Regions from separate parts of the Homo sapiens genome. Here regions 1 and 3 are each linked to region 2. Evidence: promoter capture Hi-C in 16 types of primary human blood cells and fetal thymus (Javierre and others, 2016). All regions are on one chromosome and are shown on one strand. The core of a region is centred on a gene start or on the middle of the fragment in contact, and the rest is flanking DNA. Distances in the headings are between cores, read along the strand shown. Region 1 has its middle 7.5 kb from the start of PRPSAP2. Region 2 holds the start of FAM83G (family with sequence similarity 83 member G). Region 3 overlaps PRPSAP2 (phosphoribosyl pyrophosphate synthetase associated protein 2).

Region 1 (3,074 bases), core at 532-3,031, 150 kb before region 2:
GGGCGACAGAGTAAGACTCCGTCTCAAAAAAAAAAAAAAATTAAAAATGAGTTACTTATATCATCTGGATATATGTCCTTTGTCATCGGATATAGGTCCTTTGTCTTCAGATATATGTAGTGTGAATATTTTCTCCCAATCTGTGTCTTTCGATATAGGCAGTTAAAAAAAAATGAATGTATTTAATCCTTTCAAAGGCTCTACACTATTTTGGGAGAATGAGAGGGCTTCAATCTGTTACACACAGACTTAGAGTGATATGTCACAGAATTACATCTAGGTAAGAAGCAATGTGATGCTGGGCGTGGTGGCTCATGCCTGTAATCCCAGCATTTTGAGAGGCCGAAGTGGGCGGATCATCTGAGGTCGGGAGTTCAAGAGCAGCCTGACCAACATGGAGAAACTCTGTCTCTACTAAAAATATAAAATTAGCTGGGCGTGGTGGCGCATGCCTGTAATCTCCGCTATTCGGGAGGCTGAGGTAGGAGAAATAGCTTGAACCCGGGAGGTAGAGGTTCCGGTGAGCTAAGATTACGCCACTACACTCCAGCCTGGGTGACAGAGCGAGACTCTGTCTCAAAAAACAAAACAAAACAAAAAAAGAAGCGATGTGTTAGGTAAGAGGTAGGTGTGTTCCTTAAAAAAGTGGCATATCAACTAAATCTGGGTGAGTTAGGCCTCTGAGGGTGGCCGTTTGCAGGTCTGTAACATCTAAGGGGGAGAGATTTTTATTTATTTATTTATTTATTTTTTATTTATTTTTTTATTTTTTTTGAGACAAGGTCTGGCTCTGCCGCCCAGGCTGGAGTGCAGTGGTGCAATCTCAGCTCACTGCAAGCTCCACTTCTCAGGCTCAAGCCATCCTCCCGAGCCATCCTCCTGGGCACTACTGGTGATACTTGCTGAGTCACAGCAGCACTCCACCCGCCAGGACTTGTTTTTCATTTCCATAATTGGAAAGTGCAGAATCAGGGGCAGATGAGTAGCTGGAACTACAGGCGTGTGCCACCACGCCTGACTAATTTTTTGTATTTTTTGTAGAGATGGGGTTTCACCACGTTGCCCAGGCTAGTCTTGAACTCGTGAGCTCAAGAGATCTGCCTGACTCAGCCTCCCAAAGTGCTGGGATTACAGGCATGAGCCACCATGCCCAGCCATGTGTGAATATTGAGTCACACCTGTGTGAGAGACAGCTGGATGTGTGTGTGATGTATGAGTGTGTGTGATTTGTGAATGTATGTGTCATCCACATGGGGAACATTTGAGTGTGAGTGATGTCTTCATGTATGTGTGAGATACCTGTGTGTACATATGACATCAGAGTCCTTCACTGGACATTGCAAAGGACGCTGGTGGGGTAGGGCCTCTTTCTTACTGAGTTCACAGAATGAAGTGCCATAGGGGCCTCCAAGTGCTGGTGGCCCTGTTGGCATTACTGGGCAGAGCTTGCCTGAGAATAAAATCACCAAAGAAAGACAAAACCCTGGAGATAGTGGAGCACTGGATCTAGCCATACGAAGCTGTCCCCTGGGCTTTTTAGCTGTGGAAGTCAGCCTCACCCCTCCTCAGTTAGCCCCTTTCCCTTTACATTTAGCTGGTTCAAGCTGAGTTTTATTGCAAAAGTCCTGACTAATACAAATACTTATGATAGAATGTGAATGGGGAAAGCCTTCCATTTACTAAGATTTCAAGCAAATGCAAGATTTGAATGCTTCAGAAGGAGGTACACCAGCCTTACCCCCTGGAGGCCCCAGGAAGCAAAGCCACCAAGGCAGGCCTCAGCACCACCAGGCCCCAGTCCTTAGGCCTCCCTAGGAGGTGCTTCCAGTGAAGGGGGAAGGAAAAACTGCTTGCAGGACAGTGGCATAGGGGCTCTCCAGCTGGGGCAGGGCAGTGTAGGTAGGGGAGGAGATCAGTGGGCCCGAAGTTTGGCTTAGGGTGCTCCTCCCTCCAGCTTAAGGGAGGGATTTAGAGAGGCTGAGCCAGAGATACAAGGTTTGGAGAGTGTTTGTTATGATTCGGGCTAGAGGCCTTGGCGATGCCTGTCTTTGGCAGGGAGAGACCCGATAAAGTTGAGTTGGGGGGTAATTTACCGGGGGATCATCAGTCCCTGATTCTGCACTTTCCAATTATGGAAATGAAAAAAAAGTCCTGGTGGGTGGGGTGCTGCTGTGAGCCAGCACAGTGTCACCAGTAGTGCCCAGGAGAAAGCTGTTGAGAGTAGGGTGTGGGCAAAGGGCTCAAAGCCCAGATCTTGGCTAGGTGCTGCCACCAGGAGGAGGAGGCTGCCACGGGGGCCTGTGTGTGGGCCGTGCCAACCTTGCTGTGGCTTTGGTTTATTGACATTACCATAAATATGTTATTCTACTCCATCCACCTCAATAGTGACATGAAGTAGGTGGCATTAGCCCATTTACAGATGAGGAAACTAACAGAGAGAAATGACTTCTAAGGTTGTACAGCTAAAATGGTAATGCTAATGCTAATATATATATATATTTTTAGACGGAGTCTCGCTCTGTTGCCCAGGCTGGAGTGGCAGGATCTCAGCTTAGCTCACTGCAGCCTCTGCCTCCCTGGTTCCAGTGATTCTCCTGCCTCGGCCTCCTGGGTAGCTGAGATTATAGGCATGCACCACCACGCCCGCCTAATTTTTGTATTTTTAGTAGAAACAGGGTTTCACCATGTTGGCCAGGGTGGTCTTGAACTCCTGACCTCAGGTGATCTGCCTGCCTCAGCCTCCCAAAATGCTAGGATTATAGGCGTAAGCCACTGTGCCGGGTCTACAAAACTCCTTCTGTTTTTTTTTTTTTCTTTTTCAGACCAAGTTTCACTCTTGTTGCCCAGGCTGGAGTGCAATGGCGTGATCTTGGCTCACCACAACCTCCGCCTCCCGGGTTCAAGCAATTCTCCTGCCTCAGCCTCCTGAGTAGCTGGGATTACAGGCATGTGCCACCACGACCGGCTAATTCTGTATTTTTAGTAGAGACGAGGTTTCTCCATGTTGGTCAGGCTGGTCTCGAACTCCTGACCTGAGGTGATCCACCCTCCTCGGCCTCCCAAACTGCTGGGAT
Region 2 (3,264 bases), core at 486-2,985:
TAGGAAACAGGCAGTGTTGAACAAGGACCTCCAGGCCAGTCTCAGATGGACTTGGACCATGCCTATTCCCTCACCCCACAACAAAAGCTCTCCCCACCAGAGAGCTCATGGTGTGTGCGCGCCTTTACAGTGAATCAGAGCCACTCTAAGGGAGAGTGAGAGGAAGCCCTGGGGTTCCTCCCCTCCCCACTCCACCCTATCTCGGTGCCTTCTTCTGGGGAACCAGAAACACCCTCCAACAATAAAGAGGCCCTTTGAGACGGGGCAGCCCACTGTCACCTGCTAGGACCTGGGAACCCTACCCTGCAAAGAAACTGCGGATCCCCACGAAGGTGGGGAGGAAACCTCCACCCAAGAGGCAGCCAGGGAAAACAGCAGAGATCCCTAGAAGCCCATGTTGGGCTCCCGTTTTGGGCTCTGAGTGAGCCTGTATTGAGAGGGGTCCGGTGGCTGGTTGGGCCATGGCTCCAGGAGTCCCCGCGCTGCCTCACCTTCTGTGCCTGGCTGATCATCTTCCGCACCACCTCTTTGATGTGGGCCTGCCCGTCTATGGGGGGCTGCATGTAGACGCTAGCCCGGGTCACGCCGCGGTAGGCGATGGTGTCGGGCCAGCCCAGGTCCAGCTGCGGGATGGAGCGGTCCGACTTCTGGGGCCAGTACTCCAGGGAGGGCAGCGGCTCGGCCTCGATGGGGACCCCATCCGCCCCGCTGGCTTCCTCGCCGTCGCCGACCCCATTGTCCTCGGGCCCCTGAGAGGGGCCCGTGCCCCGAGGGTCCTCAGAGCCCGGGTCGTACACCTCGATGGTCTCCAGGATGCGCTTGAGCTCCAGCTCCGAGAGGAAGTCTCGGATGTTCTCCCGCTTGAGCACCTCGTAGAAGGCGTCCCGGCCGCGGGCCACCAGGGCCTCCAGCGCCAGCCGCTGCTCCTCGCTGTAGAAGAACTCAGGCTTGGACTCGCTGGAGCGCCAGTTCACATGGTTGTCGTCCAGACACTGCACCTGAGAGAAGGCCATGGCGCCGCCTGCCCGGGCACTGCTGCCGGGGGTGGGTGGGCAAGGTCCAGCTCCTAGCTCCGGCCCAGCTGGGGCACCGCGCGCTCGGGGGCCTCTCCGCGGCCTCTGCTTCTCTGCCCATGAGCAATCTGCGGGAAAGACCTGATGAGCCCGGCTCGGCGGGGAGGGCGGGCCGCGCGGGGAGGGGCGGCGGGGGCGGGGCCGGGAACTCAGGTGGGCGTGGGAAGGACGGGGCTGGGGCTGGGGCTGGGAAGATGAGGTGGGGGCACTGGACTGGGATGGGAAGAAAGTAAGGGATCGGAACAGCGGTGAGGGAGCGGTGGGCCACGTCCCAGGGCTCAGCGTGCCTCTACGTGCAGGGAACCCATATCCCAGATTTCCGGAGCTGCCTGAAGTCCTCGCAACTTCTGAGGGAAACTAGGGCAGCCGGGGAACTTCCCAGTAGCTTCTTAGAGTGGGAGGCGGCCCCGGCACAGAGGCGCCCCGCAAACCGAGGGCTTCCGGGTAAGGGAGGGGTCTTAAAATTTCCGGGTGCCGGCAACCCAGGAGGCCTGCCCGGAGGAGGCTGGGGCTCTGGGAGGGGTCCAGGAGACCCAGAAACGCGGTTGCGGGGCGGCGACGCCCCGCGAGACCCGGGATCCGGGGGGCGCGGCCGGGACTTGCTTACCGAGCGGGCGCTGGCGGAGCGGGGCGCACACGCGGCGGCTGCGGCGGCGGCGCGAGGCTGGGCGGGGGCGCGCCGGTGACTCAGGGCCGCCCCGCTTACCCCGCCGCCGCCACCTGCGGTCACGTGCCGCCCGGGGCGGGGCCGGAAGCTGATTCACCCCTCGACAGACAGACAGACCTGGGGCGGACGCACTGCCCACGGTCCCCTGGTGCCCGAATTCCGAAAATATCAGAGGCCTAAGCCCAAGAGCTCCTGGAACACCCATCCCAGAGAGGGACAGTGTTCTCCCTGAGGTCACACAGCGGGTCAACAGCCTTGGCACCCCCCTGTGCCCCCAGGGTCTGTTGGTGATCCTGGATCAACCCTGGCTGTGCCCAGTTTCGCCGGCGTGGCGGGAAGTCCGTGCGGCTGTATAGATACCCAGCTGTCCAGTTGTGGAAACAGGTCTAGGGTACTGGGCTGGGAGCCCCCAGGCAGGGATAGGGCACTGACTGACCCAAACTCAGGGCTTTCCTGAGCAGATACCCAGTTCTCAGTCCTAAGCCCTGATCCCCTCTGGGAGGGGTCCCCGGACTGCTTCTGCGTGGCGGGCAGCACCCGACCTGAACCCTAGGGCAGGGAGGGGCCAAGAGGGCCGCTGTGGGCTGGGGTCAGGCCCAGCTCTCTGCTGAGCGTCCCCTGGGGTTGGGACCCTGGTTATGGGGAGCGTGGAGACCACATCTGAAGGCAGGCTTTGAGGGTGGGACAGCAAAGCCCATTAAATCTGGCCCAACAAACAGCCCCCACCCCATCGCGTGCCGCAGCCAGTCTGCCCGGCACCAGGCCCAGCCCTTCCTCCCATCCCCCATACTTGCTCTGGATCTGGATGGGGCTGGTTTGGGTCCCGTAAGGATGCTGCTTCCGTAGGCTGGTGACATCTCTAGGCCTTGTGCCCTCAAACCCCCCCCCTCCAAGGCCTTCTCCACCATTCATGGCCCATCAGGACTCCTTGCCTCTGAGTCCACTGCCCTGGGCAATGACTAGCCTCCTAGGCCCAGCATCCTTGTGGTCCCCATCACTGACCCCTCAAGCATGAAGTCCTACACTCTGCCATATAGCCCCCCAAGGGCTTTATGCTACTGAACATAGTGGCCCCTGGGGAACAGGCACACATATTTGCATCCTCCTCCTGCCCCAGGGCCAGAGAGGGGAGGTGATCCCAGCGGGGGAGCCCTGCCTTGAGGGTCCTGAAGACCCATTTATAGCCCCTCTGCTACTGTGGATCCCCTGTAAGACCTTCTCTGAGCCGCCTCAGCTTCTCCCTGTGTTCTTACCAATGCACAGAGGCTGGAGAGTTCAGGAAGGGAGTCCAAGGCCTCACTCCCACCTCCACCACCCCAACACTTCTGCAGTTGATGAGCAGGAAGGTTGTATGCACCCAGTTTTCCCCAGTAGCGACGTTTTGCATAACTATAATACAATAATATCACAGCCAGAAAATTGACACTGGTGCAATCCACAAAGCTTATTTAGATTTCACCAGTTTTTTGTTTGTTTTGGGACAGGGTCTTGCTCTGTCACCTAGGCTGGAGTGCAGTGGTATGT
Region 3 (3,201 bases), core at 516-3,015, 130 kb before region 2:
CCAGCAAAAGTGTTGCTTTCTGGGTTTCAGTTTAGGCATGAGTGTTTAAAATAATGATAGATGGCTAGCCAGGAAGAGTTATAATAGTCTTAAAATTAGTATATCTTACCAATTTAGAATTTAGAAAACTAAGTTTTCTGACATAACTGCTGACTTTTACATGTTCTTTCAGTGTTTTTCCTTCTTTCTTTCTTTTTTTTTTTGAGACAAAGTCCCACTCCTTCACCCAGGCTGGAGTGCAGTGGTGCAATCTCAGCTCACTGTAACCACCTCCTCCCAGGTTCTAGTGATTCTCTTGCCTCAGCCTCCCGAGTAGCTGGTACTACAGTTGGCGCCACCACGCCTGGCTAATTTTTGTATTTTTAGTAGAGACGGGGTTTCACCATGTTGGCCAGACTGGTCTTGAACTCCTGACCTCACGCAATCTGCCCGCCTCGGCCTACCAAAGTGGTGGGATTACAGGTATGAGCCACCGTGTCCAGCCACTCAGTGTTCTTAACGGGTGGAAATAACCAAGTATTGGAGTAGAGGCTCTTTTTTTTTTTTTTTTTTTGAGACAGAATTTCACTCTTGTTGCCCAGGCTGGAGTGCAATGACGCGATCTCGGCTTACCGCAACCTCAGCTTACCGCAACCTCTGCTTCCCAGGTTCAAGCAATTCTGCCTCAGCCTCCTGAGCAGCTGGGATTATAGGCATGTGTCACCACGCCCGGTTAATTTTGTGTTTCTAGTAGAGACAGGGTTTCTCCATGTTGGTCAGGCTGGTCTTGAACTCCCGACCTCAGGTGATCCACCTGCCTCAGCCTCCCAAAGTGCTGGGATTACAGGCGTGAGCCACTGCGCCCAGCCTGGAGTAGAGGCTGTTAATGATAATAGTATACATTAAGTTTCCTAACAATTAACAGCCAGAATTTTGTAAAACTTGCAAGGAAGCATTTCTAGTTCCCTCCTCTCCCCAAAAGAAACAGAGGCTAGGGGAGGAGACCTTTCTTAGTTGGGGTTCTTTAAGCTTTTATTGCATATAAAAGTGATCATTATTTACTGTTTTATTACATAAATTAGCTGAGAGGATAAAAAACTGTACTGAAGGAATGTGTATTCCTGTCTGGTGTGACCTTTGACACACCTGTGTTCTGGAAATTGTTTGGTCACATATGTTTAAGCTAGGTATAGAAGATTCAATGCAGCAAGGCTGTCTCTGGCACTCTGGAAGGGAGGGTGATCACCTGGAGCCCTACTTTTTTTTTTTCTTTTTCTTTTTTCTAAGAGGTAGAGTCTTGCTCTGTTGTCCAGTCTGGAGTGCAGTGGTGAGATCATAACTCACTACAACTTCAAACTCCTGGGCTCAAACTATCCTCCTCCCTCAGCCTCCCAAGTAGCTGGGACTACAGGCATGCACCAGCATGCTCACCTCGTTTTTTCATTTTTTGTAGAGATGGAGGTCTCACTGTATTGCCCAGCTGGTCTCAAACTTTTGGCCTCAAGTGATCCTCCTGCCTTGACCTCCTATATTGCTGAGATTCCAGCAATATAGAAGGTGAGCCTATCACACCTGGCCTTAAAGCCCCACTTTCCATTGTGTGTTTGTCCACAAATGTCCCTAAATGCTTCTGTGTATGAAGTTCTTCGCTCAGAACAATTTTTAATGTCTAGAAATCAGTTTGTCTAGTGCATTATTTTTTAGCTTAGAGAGTCTGAAAGTTGCTGCATGCTTAATTTGTGTATATACATATATAAAACCAACGAAAGGGAAAAAGAAGGCCATTTCGGGAGACTTTAGTCTTGGAACACACATTTTTTTCACCTAAATTTTGAACATTTTCTCTCCTGGTCTTTGGTTTATTGGGATGAAGTCACAAAACCCCCATCTCTCCTGGGAAGAGGAGTGGCAGGGGAGACCTGTCCTTGCATCCTATAGCCCTGGCAAACGGGTGTGCTCTGAAGGAGGAAGGGTGTGGAGGGCCTTTGCCACGGTGCCCTAGCTTCACCTTCTGCTGTGACACCCAGGATTCTCAGCAGAGCTGGAGGTGGGGGCACGGAGCGCCAACTGCCCCTGCTGCTGCTGTCCTCTTTCCCCTTTCCCACGTCTGCCACCAAACCAGGGTGGAAGTGGAGGACTCACCTGTGCCCACATCTTAACCCTTTACCTCCAGCATCGGGGTAGGGAAGGGGCGGGCACAGAACAACTTAAACGGCTTCTGGCTCCTTGGTTTCTGTGTCTGTGGTACTTTTATGTCCTTACAGACAAGTGTGATTCCATTGGATAAATGCACAGAGGTTGTGTGGATTACCCAAGGGGATGGGTAGGCATTGAGGGCACCCCTGGACTTAGAATTTAGGACTTCAGAAGGGTGACTGCTGATCCTTCTCATTTTCAAGTCCTTCTGGTTGTTTATTTTTGTACATTTCAATACTTATCCTGTGCCCCTGTCTTTTGTCAGTTTCATATTCCTCTAATCAGAATCACTCAGCACCCCTTTCATTTTCTCTCCGTGTCTCATTTTGCATTGTTCCATACCTGACATAAGCTTGTGTTAACTCGGGTTCTCAGTCTTGTCCATGTTGCAGAGTCTGGACGTCATGGTCTTCTTTGTGAAATACCATGAAATAACATTTAGTGTTGAGGGCCAGATGTGGTGGCTCATGCCTGTAATCCTAGCACTTTGGGAGGTCGAGGTGGGCATATCAGTTGAGGCCAGGAGTTTGAGACCAGCCAGGCCAACACGGTGAAACCCTGTCTTTACTAAAAATACAAAAAATTAGCTGGGCATGGTCATGAGCGCCTGTAGTCCCAGCTACTCAGGTGGCTGAGGCACGAGAATTGCTTGAACGCAGGAGGCAGAGGTTGTAGTGAGCTGAGATCACGCCACTGGATTCCAGCCTGGGTAAAAGAACAAGGCTCCATCTCGAAGTAAAAAAAAAAAAGGCTGGGCGAGGTGGCTTACACCTATAATCCCAGAGCTTTGGGAGGCCGAGGCGGGCAGATCAGGAGTTCAAGACCAGCCTGGCCAACATGGTGAAACCCTGTCTCTACTGAAAATACAAAAATTAGCTGGGCGTGGTGATATGCGCTTCTAATTCCAGCTACTTGGGAGGCTGAGGCATGAGAATCGCTTGAACCCAGGAGACAGAGGGTGCAGTGAGCCAAGATGGCGCCACTATACTCCAGGCTGGGTGATAGAGTGAGACTCTGTCTCAAAAA

What was found. The method cuts DNA at HindIII sites, captures the fragments that hold promoters and counts their contacts. A CHiCAGO score of 5 or more calls a contact.
Region 1: a fragment that was not itself captured here is called in contact with the fragment with the promoter of FAM83G in region 2 in 6 of 17 cell types (activated CD4 T cells, total CD4 T cells, non-activated CD4 T cells and 3 more); the score reaches 7.6 in activated CD4 T cells.
Region 3: a contact is called between a fragment that was not itself captured here and the fragment with the promoter of FAM83G in region 2, in 2 of 17 cell types (naive CD4 T cells and total CD4 T cells). The highest score is 7.1, in naive CD4 T cells.

What each region holds. Positions count from the first base shown.
Region 1 is chr17:18,849,117-18,852,190 of GRCh38, forward strand. No RefSeq gene overlaps it. Among named protein-coding and RNA genes, the nearest start is that of PRPSAP2, 7.5 kb to the right of the region's middle. RefSeq lists an enhancer at 1,031-1,090. The HindIII fragment of the contact is 4,259 bases long and covers 1-3,074 here.
Region 2 is chr17:19,003,029-19,006,292 of GRCh38, forward strand. It overlaps FAM83G (family with sequence similarity 83 member G), which reads right to left and starts at 1,736. Exons shown (of 6, transcript NM_001039999.3): 1 at 1,681-1,736; 2 at 492-1,141. The coding sequence starts at 1,013. All of the region lies in intron 9 of SLC5A10 (solute carrier family 5 member 10), which reads left to right. RefSeq lists a silencer at 1,608-1,907. The HindIII fragment of the contact is 3,596 bases long and covers 1-3,181 here.
Region 3 is chr17:18,872,658-18,875,858 of GRCh38, forward strand. All of the region lies in intron 5 of PRPSAP2 (phosphoribosyl pyrophosphate synthetase associated protein 2), which reads left to right. Among named protein-coding and RNA genes, the nearest start is that of PRPSAP2, 16 kb to the left of the region's middle. The HindIII fragment of the contact is 1,519 bases long and covers 1,007-2,525 here.